4 separate regions of the Homo sapiens genome follow, and all the other regions are linked to region 1. The links are contacts of gene promoters, found by promoter capture Hi-C in human tissues and cell types (Jung and others, 2019). All regions are on one chromosome and are shown on one strand. Each heading gives the region's core, a stretch centred on a gene start or on the middle of the fragment in contact. The rest is flanking DNA. Distances are from core to core; before and after follow the strand shown. Region 1 holds the start of CELA3B (chymotrypsin like elastase 3B). Region 2 overlaps USP48 (ubiquitin specific peptidase 48). Region 3 overlaps USP48 (ubiquitin specific peptidase 48). Region 4 overlaps USP48 (ubiquitin specific peptidase 48).

Evidence for each region. The method cuts DNA at HindIII sites, captures the fragments that hold promoters and counts their contacts. A contact is called where the count stands out against the background at its distance.
Region 2: a fragment that was not itself captured here is called in contact with the fragment with the promoter of CELA3B in region 1 in 2 of the 25 tissues and cell types used here (H1 embryonic stem cells and mesendoderm cells).
Region 3: a contact is called between a fragment that was not itself captured here and the fragment with the promoter of CELA3B in region 1, in 2 of the 25 tissues and cell types used here (H1 embryonic stem cells and dorsolateral prefrontal cortex).
Region 4: a fragment that was not itself captured here is called in contact with the fragment with the promoter of CELA3B in region 1 in 1 of the 25 tissues and cell types used here (bladder).

What each region holds. Positions count from the first base shown.
Region 1 is chr1:21,975,166-21,978,686 of GRCh38, reverse strand. It overlaps CELA3B (chymotrypsin like elastase 3B), which reads right to left and starts at 1,665. Exons shown (of 8, transcript NM_007352.4): 1 at 1,605-1,665; 2 at 233-318. The coding sequence starts at 1,647. The HindIII fragment of the contact is 22,565 bases long and covers 1-3,521 here.
Region 2 is chr1:21,724,923-21,728,443 of GRCh38, reverse strand. The region is part of intron 11 of USP48 (ubiquitin specific peptidase 48); the gene reads left to right. Among named protein-coding and RNA genes, the nearest start is that of USP48, 56 kb to the left of the region's middle. The HindIII fragment of the contact is 3,775 bases long and covers 1-3,509 here.
Region 3 is chr1:21,745,996-21,749,516 of GRCh38, reverse strand. It overlaps USP48 (ubiquitin specific peptidase 48), which reads left to right. Exons shown (of 27, transcript NM_032236.8): 7 at 1,246-1,379; 8 at 2,368-2,450. Among named protein-coding and RNA genes, the nearest start is that of USP48, 35 kb to the left of the region's middle. The HindIII fragment of the contact is 4,676 bases long and covers 1-3,521 here.
Region 4 is chr1:21,762,882-21,766,402 of GRCh38, reverse strand. The region is part of intron 1 of USP48 (ubiquitin specific peptidase 48); the gene reads left to right. Among named protein-coding and RNA genes, the nearest start is that of USP48, 19 kb to the left of the region's middle. The HindIII fragment of the contact is 8,017 bases long and covers 1-3,521 here.

The DNA of each region.
Region 1 (3,521 bases), core at 416-2,915:
AGCATTTCCTTCACCCCCGATTCCACTTTTAAGTTGCAAATAGCCCAGTGAGGGTTACAGACGGAATGGGCAAAACCTCCCCGTGAAGTAGATGGTCCAAGGGCTGCCTGGTCTTTGGAAGCTGAAGTGGACATTGCAAAGGGAGCAATGGTGTCAAGGCTGGATGCCGCGCCATTAGAGCTTAGGGTCCAGAGCCCACGGTGGGAATGAGGGCAGCTGCTATTGCTCTTACCTGCCAGGGCCAGCTGTAGGGGACCGCATCCTCACCATTGACAACGCGGCTGGAAGGGCGAGAGGAAGGTGGGCCATAGCCTGAGGCTAGAGGGGAGAGGAGAGCTGTCAATCAGCGGGAGGGTCCCCAAAAGCAAAGAGGAGGCCAGGGTCCCAGTCCAAGCCGTGCCTTCAAGTGGCTGTGTGACCCCATGCAAGCCCCTTTCGCCCTCTGGACCTCAGTAACCACATATGAATAGTGAACATTTAAACTAGAGCAGGGCTTTCCAGAATCCCAAGACTCCAGGGATAGAGATTCAAATGTGGCCTCCTTCATTGGGAGGATTGAAGAGCTTGATACACTTAGAACAATGCCTGGCCCTCAATGAGCCCTCAAAAAGTGAGAGCTATTGTCATACAGAGTGGAGGCTTTAAAGAAGGACTTCCTGGGTTCAAAGTGCAGCTCTGGGCTGTGTGTGGTGGTTCACACCTGTAATCCTAGTGCTTTGAGAGGCCGAGGCGGGAGGATCGCTTGAGCCCGGGAGTTTGAGACCAGCCTGGGCAACATAGCAAGACCTCATCTCTAGAAAAATAAAGTACAATAAAATAAAGTAGCCAGGTATGGTGGCATGTGCCTATAATCTCAGCTACTCAGGAGGCTAAGGTGGTAGGATTGCTTGAGGCCAAGATTTTGAGACCAGTCTGGGCAACAAAGCAAGACCCCATCTCAACAAAAAAAAAAGCAAAAAATAAAAACATTAAGTGCAGCTCTGCCTTTTGTTCTATGATAAGCTACTTTACTTCCTTGAGGGTCGGTAAAATGGGGAAAATGATAGTACTGATCTCCTGAGGCTGTTGTGAGAATTACATGAGAAAGTATAAGGAAAACCCTAAACATTCTGCCTGGCATAGTAAGCACTCAATCAATGTTATCTGTTACCATTATTGTCAGTCAAGGGAGGCTGCTTGGAAGAGGTGGCCCTGAGCTGGAATGTAATATGGCAGAGAGACCAGGAAAAGGCCAGAGCATAGAATATGGAGCCAGGTAGGGGGAGTGTGAGAGGAGAGTTGGAGTGGTAAGCAGAACAGTGGAAATTCCAACCCAAGAAGTCCAACCACACAGCCCAAACTCTTAACCGTTTGACTTTGTTTACTGCCCCCATCAAGGACTTCCACCACAGCCCTTTGGGGTCTTTCTCCATCCACGGCTTCCCCTCCACTCTCCTGCTCCATCATAAGCTGAAAGCCCCCACAGTCATGCCCCCGGGTACAAGCTGAGACCCCCTCCTGTGGAACCAGGCATAGGGTGTCATGGGACTTAGAGCAAGTGGTAGATTTCAAGGATTCCTAATCTAGGGCAGCCCAGGGAGCACACACACAGGTTGGGGTCTTACCAACGGCCACAAGGAGGAGGGAACTGAGCAGCCGGAGCATCATGAGTTTTGCGATGATAGGAAAAGGGCACAGAACCTGGGGCTCTAATATAGGGCAGAAGGTAAGCAAAGGGGGCTGACTGGGCCCCACTCCCAGAACAGGTGGTGGAAATGCAGGTCTCCCATGGTCCAAGGCCACAGTTCTCACTCACTGCAGATGGAGGAGTGACAGCCAAAGGAAGGACCTAGCGTTCCCTCCAACAGGTGGCCGCACAGGTGGTGTGGAGTGGCCAACTGATAACAAGAGTTCAGGAAGAAAAGCTCATGTCAGGACAAGACCTCCTCTTTCGGAAAGAACAGGGGCACTGGAACCGGGCAGACCACGGTTCAATCCTGGTTCTGCCACCTCCAAGCTCTGCGACTTTGGGCGCATGGCTTAACCTCTCTGAGTCTCAGTTTTCTGCTCTCTAACATGAGATTTATATTAGTACCCACCTCCACAAAAAATTTTTTGTTGAGCACTTTTTCTCTATGTATCAGGCACTGTTCTAGGGGATACAGCTGTGAAAAATACATGGTCTCAGCCCTTCTAGAGTTTGAGTCTAGGCCAGGAGCGGTGGCTCACACCTGTGATCCCAGCGCTTTGGGAGGCCAAGGTGGGAGGATCAATTGAGGTCAGAAGTTTGAAACATGGTGAAACCTTATCTCTACTAAAACTACAAAAATTAGCAGGCGTGGTGGTGGGCACCTATAATCCCAGCACCGGTAATCCTAGCTACTGTGAGCCTGAGGGAGGAGAATCATTTGAACCCAGGAGGCAGGGAGGCAGAGGTTGCAGTGAGCCGAGATCATGCCACTGCACTCCTGCCTGGGCCACAGAGCAAGACTGTCTCAAAAACAAACAAACAAACAAACAAAACAGAAAAGAAAATGGGGCGGGCACGGTGGCTCACGCCTGTAATCCCAGCACTTTGGGAGGCTGAGGTGGGTGGATCACGAGGTCAGGAGATCGACACCATCCTGGCTAACACGGTGAAACCCCGTCTCCACTAAAAATACAAAATGTTAGCCGGGCGAGGTGGCGGGCGCCTGTAGCCCCAGCTACTCAGGAGAGTGAGGCAAGAGAATGGCGTGAACCCCAGGGGGCAGAGCCTGCAGTGAGCCAAGATGGCGCCCCTGCACTCCAGCCTGGGCGACAGCGAGACTCCGTGTCAAAAAAAAAAAAAGAAAATGAAAATGGGTGATTGGGGTAGGAATGGAGTAAGTCATTTAGATGAGGGGGACAGAGAAAGTGACATTTGGGCTGAGGAGGTCATATCTGATGGAGTCCTGAGGATAAGTAAAAGCCAGCAACGGGAATCCCTGAAAGAAACGCGTTCTGAAGGGAGGCGACAGCAGGTGCGAAGTTCTGGAGGCTGCAATGGGCTTGGCTTGTTCAAGGAAAGGGAGGCCAGTGTGACAGGAGCTTGGTAGTCAAAGTAGAGAGGGGTGGGAGATGAGGTCAAAGAGCAGGCAACCCCGAAAGTGGAATTCACAGGTGATCCAGCGGTTTCCCTCCTAGGTCTACACCGTGAGAAAACCTTAGGCATGTGCTCCAGGAGGTGTGGATGAGATTGTTTGCCGCAGCCCCTGTTCTCAAACCTCAACAGCAAAGACCTAGAAACAACTCCCACGTCCATCAAGGTTCATAGGTCAATATGTGTAGCATATTCACACAATAGATTTTTTTTTTTTATAGTGGTGCGATCTTGGCTCACTGCAACCTCCACCTCACGGGTTCAAGCGATTCTCCTGCCTCAGCCTCCCGAGTAGCTGGGATTACAGGCGCGCACCACCACGCCTGGCTAATTTTTGTATTTTTAGTAGAGATGGGGTTTCACCATGTTGGCCAGGCTAGTTTCCAACTCCTGACCTCTGGTGATCCACCCACCTCGACCT
Region 2 (3,521 bases), core at 373-2,872, 250 kb after region 1:
ACTCTAAAAGTACTTTGTAAACCAACAATAACTTGATGTGTAGCATTCCATATTATTTCATTACGTTGTACTCCTAAAAATGGGAAGCTGTTAATAAATTATAACATTTAGGTCAGCACTCTGCATCCATGAGTATTGTAGATATTTATATTTTGTGAGATATTAACTTGTTTAAGAAAAATCCGATTGGATTACTATGGAAAAAGCAACTTGCCTGTTCTGTTTCTTTGCATACTTTGTGACCTAACAGTTTTAACAGACATTCTATTATATGAATACAGTTTTTTTGATACTATTAGATTAACTTGAAGTTTAATACCAAATATTATGCTAAGAGTAGAAAAGCTTTCTGCTGACCCCTGATTTCTTAGAAATATCCCACATAATCCAGCTTATCCCTTTTCTGTATATGTTTATTCAGGTTTACCTGATGTCTCAAAATGAAACCAAATTAAGCCTTTTTAAAGGCTGATGTGCCATTTGTATTAAGTTATCTTTGTCATTTTAAAGACATGAATTCCCCAAGCCTAATTCCTACTTAAGGAAGAGAGACAATTTAGTCCTTACTTTAGAAAATAAATACTTAAGCATAATTGTACTTGTGGTTTGTCTTTTTAATATCTTAATTTTCCATTACTAGTATAACTTTAAGCAAAATGTAAACAAAAATTGCCAAGTCTATAAGAATATATTTTAACTAAATTTTAATTCAATTCTGACCCTTCTTTGTAATCTGTTACTTTAACTCTGTCCAAGGGTTGGGATTACCCTAAATAATTAAACTGACCTTAATGTAACTGGAAATGATTTGGAAATGAACCCATGATTCAGATCTCTAAATTTATAGGTCTTTGTTCAAAGGTGTTGGGACCTAGAAATCTATTTTCCAAACTTTATTCACGGTTTCCTGTGTCCACTGGGCAAGAGAAAGGGACTTAACTGGGTCTAAAGTGAAATACTCATTTGAACCACTCTTTAGAACTATAGAGTTCAAAGATGTTATGTGTCAAGTTAGCACTGTGCTTCCTTTGGCTGTTTTCATTCAGCATATAGGAACCTTATGTTCTTAGAATATGCTTATGTTCTTAGAGTATTTCTCTGTGTTATTTATACTTTTACCAATTATGAGCTATATAATTCTTTTCCATTTGCAGTAAACTTATATTGTAGACAGTCCACGCTGTAAAATTATGTAGAATCTCAAAGTTAATGAGCATGGTTTTGTGCTGGCAAGAGAAGTCTTTTGTTATGCATTTTCTAAATCTTATTTTTGTGTGTGAACATATTTAAAAAAACAAAGATCACTTACCCTAAAATCTAAGCCTCAGTAGGAACGTGCTTTTGGCCCTTTTTATTTCCATTGAAATATACTTAAATTATCTCTAGGTAAAGTGTTTCAGATGTTTTTGATGCTGTGATTGTTCTAGACTTTATAACTTTCCAAAGAAAATGTGTCATGTTCAAAATCCAGGTTTTTTTTTTTCTTTTTAAAGAACTTTGAACCAAAATGTATATTTCCCTGTGGTAAATATTTTAATATTTTGCTTTCCTCATCAAATGCTGAGGTTTCATATAGTCCGGTATCTCCAGCTTGATAATAGGAGAGTTCTCCCTCATTTGGAGTTGATTATGTCCATGGCCTTTGGAAAGCAATGCTTGTAGTTTACTGAATCACAAATACTAGGGAATATATTTGAGGGGCCTACTTAGAGTCTTTTTCTAGTGCAGAAACATCTGTAGTGTAAAAACTTTGCCACAAACAGAATCTGCCTTAACTATGAGACTTGTGCTCCACTTGTATTCTCAGGCAAGCTCTTGGCAGAGTCAGTGCAACTCTTTATGATGATAGAGACTGAAAATGGAAAGAAAGACAGACTTCTGTGACCATAGTCACTCTTCCTTCATGGAGCCCACAGCGCACTAAAGTGAAATCTGGAGAACTTGCTGTTAGTAGTAAGCATGGTATTAGATTAGAATTATAGGCCTGTTCTCTGCTTTCTGTCTTCCTCCTCTTACTATAAAACCGTACATAGTTTTTCTAATCATTGTATCTTACATTAAATTTATATTGAACAATTCAAAAACCAAAACAACAAGCTTTCCTTGGAAGTTTTCTGTGAGATTGGAAAATGTTGTCTTGCCTTTGAGCCACATTGTTGCTGGACAGTCAGGGCCACAGTCACCCTAGGCTTTGAATTCCTGCAGACATCCCCTGGCAAGGAGGGCTTTGTGCATTTTGAGCTTTCCTAGATTCCTTTCATTGTGAGGGCCAGGATTCTTAGGGTGTTTTCTTTCAGTTAGCAATAACAGATACTGCTGTCTGTCCACTCCTCCCCAGCTGCTGGGGAAACTAGGATGCCTAGTGACTTATTCTTGAATGTTGCTCTTTATCACAATCCTGTTTTTTCTCCTTTGATAGCCTTCATATTGCTTACCATTTTAATCTAATTGACTGTCCTTGGGAAAAGATGAGAGTATGCTAAGACTTTGATCTTGCTTTCAGAAAGGGATCATTTATCTTTGCATTCCCCAGATACCCAGTGTACTCTATCCCTGGCAGATTAAGCTTGATAAATGGCAAATAAAGTCGGGAGGCATTTTGAATGTAATTAGCCATACCATGATATACTGTAAAGTGCTGCAGCTGTGTTACATATACTGCATCTTAAAGTCTCCTCTTTTTTTTTTTTGAGATGGAATTTCACTCTTGTTGCCCAGGCTAGAGCGCACTGGTGCAATGTCAGCTCACCACAACCTCCGCGTCCCGGGTTCAAGTGATTCTCCTGCCTCAGCCTCCCGAATAGCTGGTATTACAGTCGTGTGCCGCCATGCCCAGCTAATTTTTTGTATTTTTAGTACAGACGGGGTTTCTCCCTGTTGGTCAGGCTGGTCTCAAACTCTGGACCTCAGGTGATCTGCCCGCCTCGGCCTCCCAAAGTGCTAGGATTACAGGCGTGAGCCACCATGCCCAGCCAAGGTCTCCTCTTTTATATATTAAGTTTACGTAAATGTATAATTAACTTTTCCATATCTCTTTTCTTCCAAAAAGCTCAAAATGCTTCACATAGCTTATCTTTTATACTCAACAACATTCCCATGAGGTAGGTAGAAGGCAGGTATTATTACCTTCATTTTACAAATAAAAGACTGGAAACATAGAAAGTTTAAGTGACTTGTTCAGGTTCATTTTCTTGGTAGCAGAACTTGGATTAGACCGTGACCTCGACTCACAGTCCTGTGCTCTTCCTCTGGAGCCACATTCGACTTGACCAGTTAGAAGGCTCTTAGTTGATGATGTACAGTGCCAAATTTTGTTTTCATAAAAATTGAGATGGTTTACTGTAAAATTAAAATGGGAGTTAGTTTTCTAGACATGTAACTCTCTGGGGAGTATAAAACTGGTCACAATGGGCTTTGCGTTGAAGTATCTGTCCCTCAGATCTCATCAGAAGGAGTATATAATACAAAAATATAAATTCAACCTCTGTATGTTTTCTTCTATGTTTTATGCTGGGACTCAC
Region 3 (3,521 bases), core at 520-3,019, 230 kb after region 1:
CAACTGAAAGAATGGAGTTGCTCTAACTGAGATAGGGAGGACCTGGGAGGAGCAGGGTTGAGAGGAATTAGGAGTTTGGCTTTGAGCATGTTACGTTTGAGAGGTATAGTTCCAGGAAGAAGTCGTGGCTGGATAAAATCCCCAAGGGAGTGGGAGAGAGACAAGGACTGAGGCCTGGGACATTCAAATGTTAGGGATCAGGGAGGTAGGAGCAGCTGGCACAGGAGTCCCTGGAGGAATGCCAGTGAATTAGGAGGCAAGTCAGTGAGTGTGGTATCCTGGAAGCCAAGTGAAGAGATGATGGTACCAGTATTGCATTACTTACAATATGGTAAGTACAATATGGTACAAAAGCTTGAGCTCAGGAGTTTGAGTCTTCGGTTAGCTATGATTGGCTGCAATTAGCTTTATAGAAATATAAAGGCAAATTTTAAAAAGAAACCACTATCAGCTAAAATGTTTGATTTTTCTACACGTCTCTTTTTAGCTTTGTCTCATGAATATGTTTCAGTAATTTTAAACAAATATGTATATAATTTTGTATTCTGGTGCCCATATATCGTTTTTACACTACCCTCCTCCCTCCTGTTTTTTTCTTCATTTTTTTGAGACAGAGTCTCGCTTTGTTTCCAGGCTGGAGTGCAGAGGTGTGATCTCAGCTTACTGCAAGCTCCACCTCCCGGGTTCAAGTGATTCTTGTGTCTCAGCCTCCCGAGTAGTTGGGACCACAGGTGTGTACCACCATGCCTGGCTAATTTTTGTATTTTTAGTAGAGACGGGGTTTCACCTGGGCAGCCAGGCCGGTCTCGAATTCCTGGCCTCAAGTGATCCACCCACCTCGGCCTCCCAAAGTGTTGGGATTACAGGCGTGAGCCATGTTGCCCAGCCTTTTTGCTGTCTTTAAATGAATGTTGCATCAAAATACATGTGACATTTCTTTTTAAAACTTACTTTAGAATTCCCAGAAGTGGGATTACCAGGACAAAGAACCTAAAACAAGTATTTTTAATATCATACATTTGGGAAATAGGCACATCAGTTTTAAATATCAGTGTATTCAAATTGATAATGTCACTGCTGAACAGTTCCCATTACTTTTGTGTGTCCATTATTTATAGTAGCTGTTTTTAAGTAGCTTAAGTGAGAGCTATTAACTGAAATGAAATTATACTTTACATCAAGGGTTTTATCACTTGTTTTAAACCCATCTTCTTTTTAAAATTAATATGTCTTATTCTTGATCAGGAAGAAAAATTAGAAGGAGACAATCGCTATTTTTGCGAGAACTGTCAAAGCAAACAGAATGCAACAAGAAAGATTCGACTTCTTAGCCTTCCTTGCACTCTGAACTTGCAGCTAATGCGTTTTGTCTTTGACAGGTAAATGTGTGCAAATATTAGTGTTTGTTGTTCATTGTGGTCTACTATGTACAGACTTTACCATAGATGAGATGATAAAATGGTTGTAATTTGAAACTCTAGATTTGAGGATGAAAGTTATAGATGGAGGCTGTCATTTTGAAATGTCGATATTTCATGATTTTATCATAAAAAATTTTAAAGAAGCCAACCATATATAAATGATAACTAGAAAAGTAAAAAATCCTTACTTTTTTTATTCTAAGAAAGTATTAAAAACTGCAAGGGCCGGGTGCGGTGGCTCACGCCTGTAATCCCAGCACTTTGGGAGGCTGAGGCAGGTGGATCACCTGAGGTCAGGAGTTCGAGATCAGCCGGGCCAACATGGTGAAACCCCGTCTCTACTAAAAATACAAAAATTAGCCGGGCGTGGTGGCAGGCGCCTGTAATCCCAGCTACTGGGGAGGCTGAGGCAGGAGAATCACTTGAACCCAGGAGGCGGAGGTTGCAGTGAGCCGAGATTGCACCATTGTACTCCGGCCTGGGCAACAAGAGTGAAACTCTGTCTTGGAAAAAAAAAAAGAAAGAAAAACTGCAAGTAATTGAATTACCCTGACCTTCTGTATTGTCCTTTATTTTAAATAGAATAAATTTTGTACTCATTACACCCCCGCCATGGGAATGTATTTTTCATTTTATAATTAAAATCAAGGCAATGTTTGCACATGTGCATGTCTTCTGTAAAGCAGGATAATCTGTTTTGTGATTAAGTTGAAACTTCTGGAAAATAAGCTGTGTTTGGAATCAGCACTTCGCATTCACATTTTTTAACCTCATATTTGTCCAGCTATAAAACAATATTCTGTTTACTTCTAATTGTACATGTTTTGGAGGAAGATTGTGAAGTGAAAGCTAGCTACTGTTGAGTTTATTAAAATAGCTAATAGAGCTTATATATTGTATTATGATTGTTTTAAATGTAAATATAATCAGCTTTCCTCTTGGTTAGGCAAACTGGACATAAGAAAAAGCTGAATACCTACATTGGCTTCTCAGAAATTTTGGATATGGAGCCTTATGTGGAACATAAAGGTAATATTTTTACTGAGGAGTAAACATTATAATGCTCAGAGACTCTAACTTGTGATCGGCTTGTGATTAATATAGAATAGCAGTCAATTGCCAATTTTTGTTTGCTAATCTCTCTCTGGGAACCTCTGTCTGGGAACAAAGACTTTTTTAGGAGAGCCAAGATGTTAATTCCATTTTGTGTGAGTAAGCATATAGCAAAGATGAGGTGGTTCATCGATATGTACAGAATTAAGGGTATAAAAATAATTTGTAAAAAATGAAAAAGGTATTTTACTGTTTCTGAACCCGCACTTGCCACCTTAGTTTCAATACTATTATTTATCATTTCTCAAAACTAACAGTCTCCAAGCGCCTCTATTCACTTTTTTAAAAACGTTGTCCCAGAAACATTAGGTGGCATAATTCCAGTATTTATGCTTTCATTTTTCATATCTGCAACTACTGATACGCCCTAGGATGCTATCATTGTTTTAACAAGAAATAAGTACTGCTTTTTTCTTTTGGTAGTCTTCATCCTACCAAACAGGTTGAGTCTTACTAGAGAAAGGACTGTTTTACTTCCCTTTAAGGTTGATTGTAGTACTTATAAAATATTATGTATGTATGTATGTATTTTTGAGACGGAGTCTTGCTCTGTTGCCTAGGCTGGAGTGCAGTGACACGATCTCAGCTCACTGCAACCTCAGCCTCCCTTGTAGCTGGGAGGCTACAAGGGAGCCCAGCTAATTTTTGCACTTTAGGGTTTTGCCGTGTTGGCCAAGCTGGTCTCAAACTCCTGGCCTCAAGTGGGACACCTGCCTTGACCTCCCTAAGTGCTGGGATTACAGGCGTGAGCCACTGCCCCCAACCTGAAATTTTTAATGTAGAAATTATTTTATAAACTCTATCTCTTTCCAAAAAAATAAAAAATTTCTAGAGGCAGCTTACAATGGAAGCAAGCTGTAAAAACCTTTAAGAGACATTTCTGGAGGCAGCTTACAATGGAAGCAAGCTGTAAAAACCTTTAAGAGACATGATTGGGAAAGTTGGGGAGGAATGTGCTAAATAAATATGTAAGCTTTCAAATGTATG
Region 4 (3,521 bases), core at 638-3,137, 210 kb after region 1:
TCCCTGAACACAATTTTTGACTTGTGGAACATTGTTTTTTTTTGTGCTGTGTCACCTAGGCTAGGGTGCAGTGCCATGATCTCAGCTCACTGCAACCTCCGCCTCCCGGGTTCAAGTGATTCTCATGACAGCCTCTGGAGTAGCTGGGATTACAAGCATTCGCCACCAAACCCAGCTAATTTTTATATTCTTAGTAGAAGTTTAGTAGGGTTTTGCCACGTTGGCCAGGCTGGTCTTGAACTCCTAGCCTCAAGTGATCCTCCCGCCTCGGCCTTTCAGAGTGCTGGGACTACGGGTGTGAGCCACCACATCCAGCCTGGAAAATCTTTTTGTTACAATTTTGGGCATCATTCCAGATTTCTCCTTTCCTTTCTTGCCTGTTGCATCTTATTAGTCCCCAGTTCTATTGATTTCTTCCCATCAATATGCTTGAACTTCCTCCATTCCTATTCCCACTGAATTGCCTTTTTTTTTTTTTTTTTTTTTTTTTTTTTTTTTTTTGGAGATGGAGTCTCACTTTGTTGCCCAGGCCGGAGCACCATGGGATCTCGGCTAACTGCAACCTCGGCTTCGTAGTTTCAAACTATTCTCCTGTCTCAGGTGATCCACTCACCTCAGCCTTCCAAAGGGCTAGGATTACGGGTGTGAGCCACCACACCCGGCCTAAATTGGCTTTTTAAGACCTCATCTTCCACTAGAAAAATTGTTAGTTATGTCTCACACCTTGTTTAGCTTCGGAACGTCTCATGCCTTGTTCAGCTTCGGGCTGTCCCCCCCTTTTTTTTTTTGACAGAGTCTCGCTCTGTCACCCAGACTTGAGTGCAGTGGCGTGATCTCGGCTCACTGCAACCTCCGCCTCCCGGGTTCAAGCGAGCCTTCTGCCTCAGTCTCTGGAGTAGGTGGGACTACAGGCGCGTGCCACCATGCCTGGCACATTTTTGAATTTTTAGTAGAGAACGGGGTTTCACCATATTAGCCAGGCTGGTCTCAAACTCCTGACCTCAAGTGATCCGCCTGCCTCGACCTCCCAAAATGCTGGGATTACAGGCATGAGCTACCACACCCCGCCCGGTCTGTCCTGTTTACTGCTGCCAAAGTGTGTCCCTGGCCTAAAATCACAGCAGATGTCTGCTTAGTACGTCATAACCAAACCTTTTGGAACCTATCCTCTGCCTAACACGTTGGTGTTCTCATACAGTGCAGTCTTGGAACAAAGTACCCATTAAATTATCTGAATTCCTTATCGTACTATGGCATTGCCATTGTGCTGTTATTACTCAAGTTTGGTGGACCTGTGCCCAGAAGTAGAATTATTGAAACAAAAACATTGTTGTCATTTAACATTTTTGAGATGTTTTCTTTAGTTATTTTTCCTGCAGGGTTATATGATATTTTGATTTATAAGAAATATATGCTTAGTCTTTGTACTACTTCTGGCACAGCTCCTAAAACCTTTGGGATCTCTGAAGTGACTAAGTGTCTTTTTGTATGCTAATGAAATGACTGATGGCTGGGAGCTCTTGGTAGCCTCCACATGGGCTGGTTGCCAGGAGAACCAACCACGATGAGAGGTTTAGAACTTTTTAGTCTGACCTCTGGGAGGGGAGAGGACTAAAGGTTGCTAATCTCCAGTGGCCAGTGATTCAATCAGTCATGCCTATGTAATCAAGTCTTTTTTTTTTTTTTTTTTTGAGACGGAGTGCCACTCTGTCACCCAGGCTGGTGTGGGGTGGCACAATCACGATCTCGGCTCACTGCAACCTCCGCCTCCCGGGTTCAAGCAGTTCTCTGCCTCAGCCTCCAGAGTAGCTGGGATTACAAGCACCTGCCACCATACCTGGCTAAGTTTTGTATTTTTAGTAGAGTCAGGGTTTCACCATCTTGGCCAGGTTGGTCTTGAACTCCTGACCTCATAATCCACCAGCCTCGGCCTCCCACTGCGCCCAGGCTTTTTTTTTTTTTTGGAGACAGGGTCTCTCTCTGATGCCCAGGCTGGAGTGCAGTGGCGTGATCTCAGCTCACTGCAGCCTCTGCCTCCCGGGTTCAAGCAATTCTCTTGTCTCAGCTTCCTGAGCAGCTGGGACTATAGGCATATGCCACCACACCTGGCTAATTTTTTGTATTTTTAGTAAAGATGGGTTTTCGCCATATTGGCCTGGCTGGTGTCAAATTCCTGGCCTCAAGTGATCTGCCTGCCTCAGCCTTGCAAATTGCTGGGACTACAGGTGTGAACCACTGCTCCCAGACACTGTCTCATATTTTGTGAAACACTCAACCTCCTTGATCTGTTTTGATAGTTGATAGACACAGGTACACATAACTGTTTTTCTACTGTAAGGAAATTGGCACACACATGATGATAAATGATCCTTGATACCTGGGGCCTACTCCTAAGGAGGGATAAAATGGAGTTAGGGGCATTGGAGAATGACGAATGGGAGAGGCTACAGCCCTCTGTGGTTGGCATTCTGCTGTGCTGCTAAGGCTGGCTTTAGAAGTAACAGCTTATAATTAGAACTGTGATTTGTGTCTGCCTGTCCATCCGTCCTCCCTCCCTCCCTCCCTTCCTTCCTCCCTTCCTTTTCTTGAAACAGAGTTTCTCTCTAGTTACCAGGGTTGGAGTGCAATGGCATGATCTCGGCTCACCGCACCCTCTGCCTCCTGGGTTCAAGTGATTCTCCTGCCTCAGCCTCCTGAGTAGCTGGAATTACAGGCATGTGCCACCACGCCTGGCTAATTTTTTGTATTTTTAGTAGAGACGAGGTTTCTCTATGTCAGCCAGGCTGGTCTCGAACTCCCGACCTCAGGTGATCTGCCCGCCTTGGCCTCTCAAAGTGTTGGGATTATAGGCGTGAGCCACTGCGCCCAGCTGTTATTTGTGTTTGTTAAGTAGATTCTTTACCTCTCCAAGTAAGAGAACAAACACAACCCCGCCCCCCCATATTGGGCTATGTATGAAAGGCTTAGCAACAATTTAGAAGTTTAGAAAGCCCAAGCCCTTTTAATGCAAAGCACCGCCATTGGCTTTTTGGTTCCCACCTGAAGTGTGGCCATAGAGGCTCGGGAGCCATAGGTTTGGCCTGGGGTGGTAGTCTATCACAGGTCACCTGCACTTGGCATTCTGCTGTGGTGGTGTTCTAGCCGACTGAAGACGTATTCAGTGATACCTAGCAAGCAATTAATTTAAGAAAATTTAAAAAGAACAATGCCAGTGTTGTGGGGCCTAATAATACAGATTGCTCCCAGCTTCTCATAGTAGCTTTTGAAAGTCTTATTGTGGTAATATTTAGGCCATAGGTTGTGTTTGCCTTTTGATGCCAGCTTTAGAACCAGTTGAGTATGCATGATTTTTGGGTGGGGACAGGGAGAGCCTACCTTTTCTTCATTGTCTGAATTATTTTGCTATCAGGAACTGGAGACTAAAATCTAAACAGATCCAGTGGAACTATTTTCTGAGAATGATGTCTGTGTTTGACACATGGGAGTATCTGTTTCCCCAGCCAGGTCGTGTGAATTTTTTT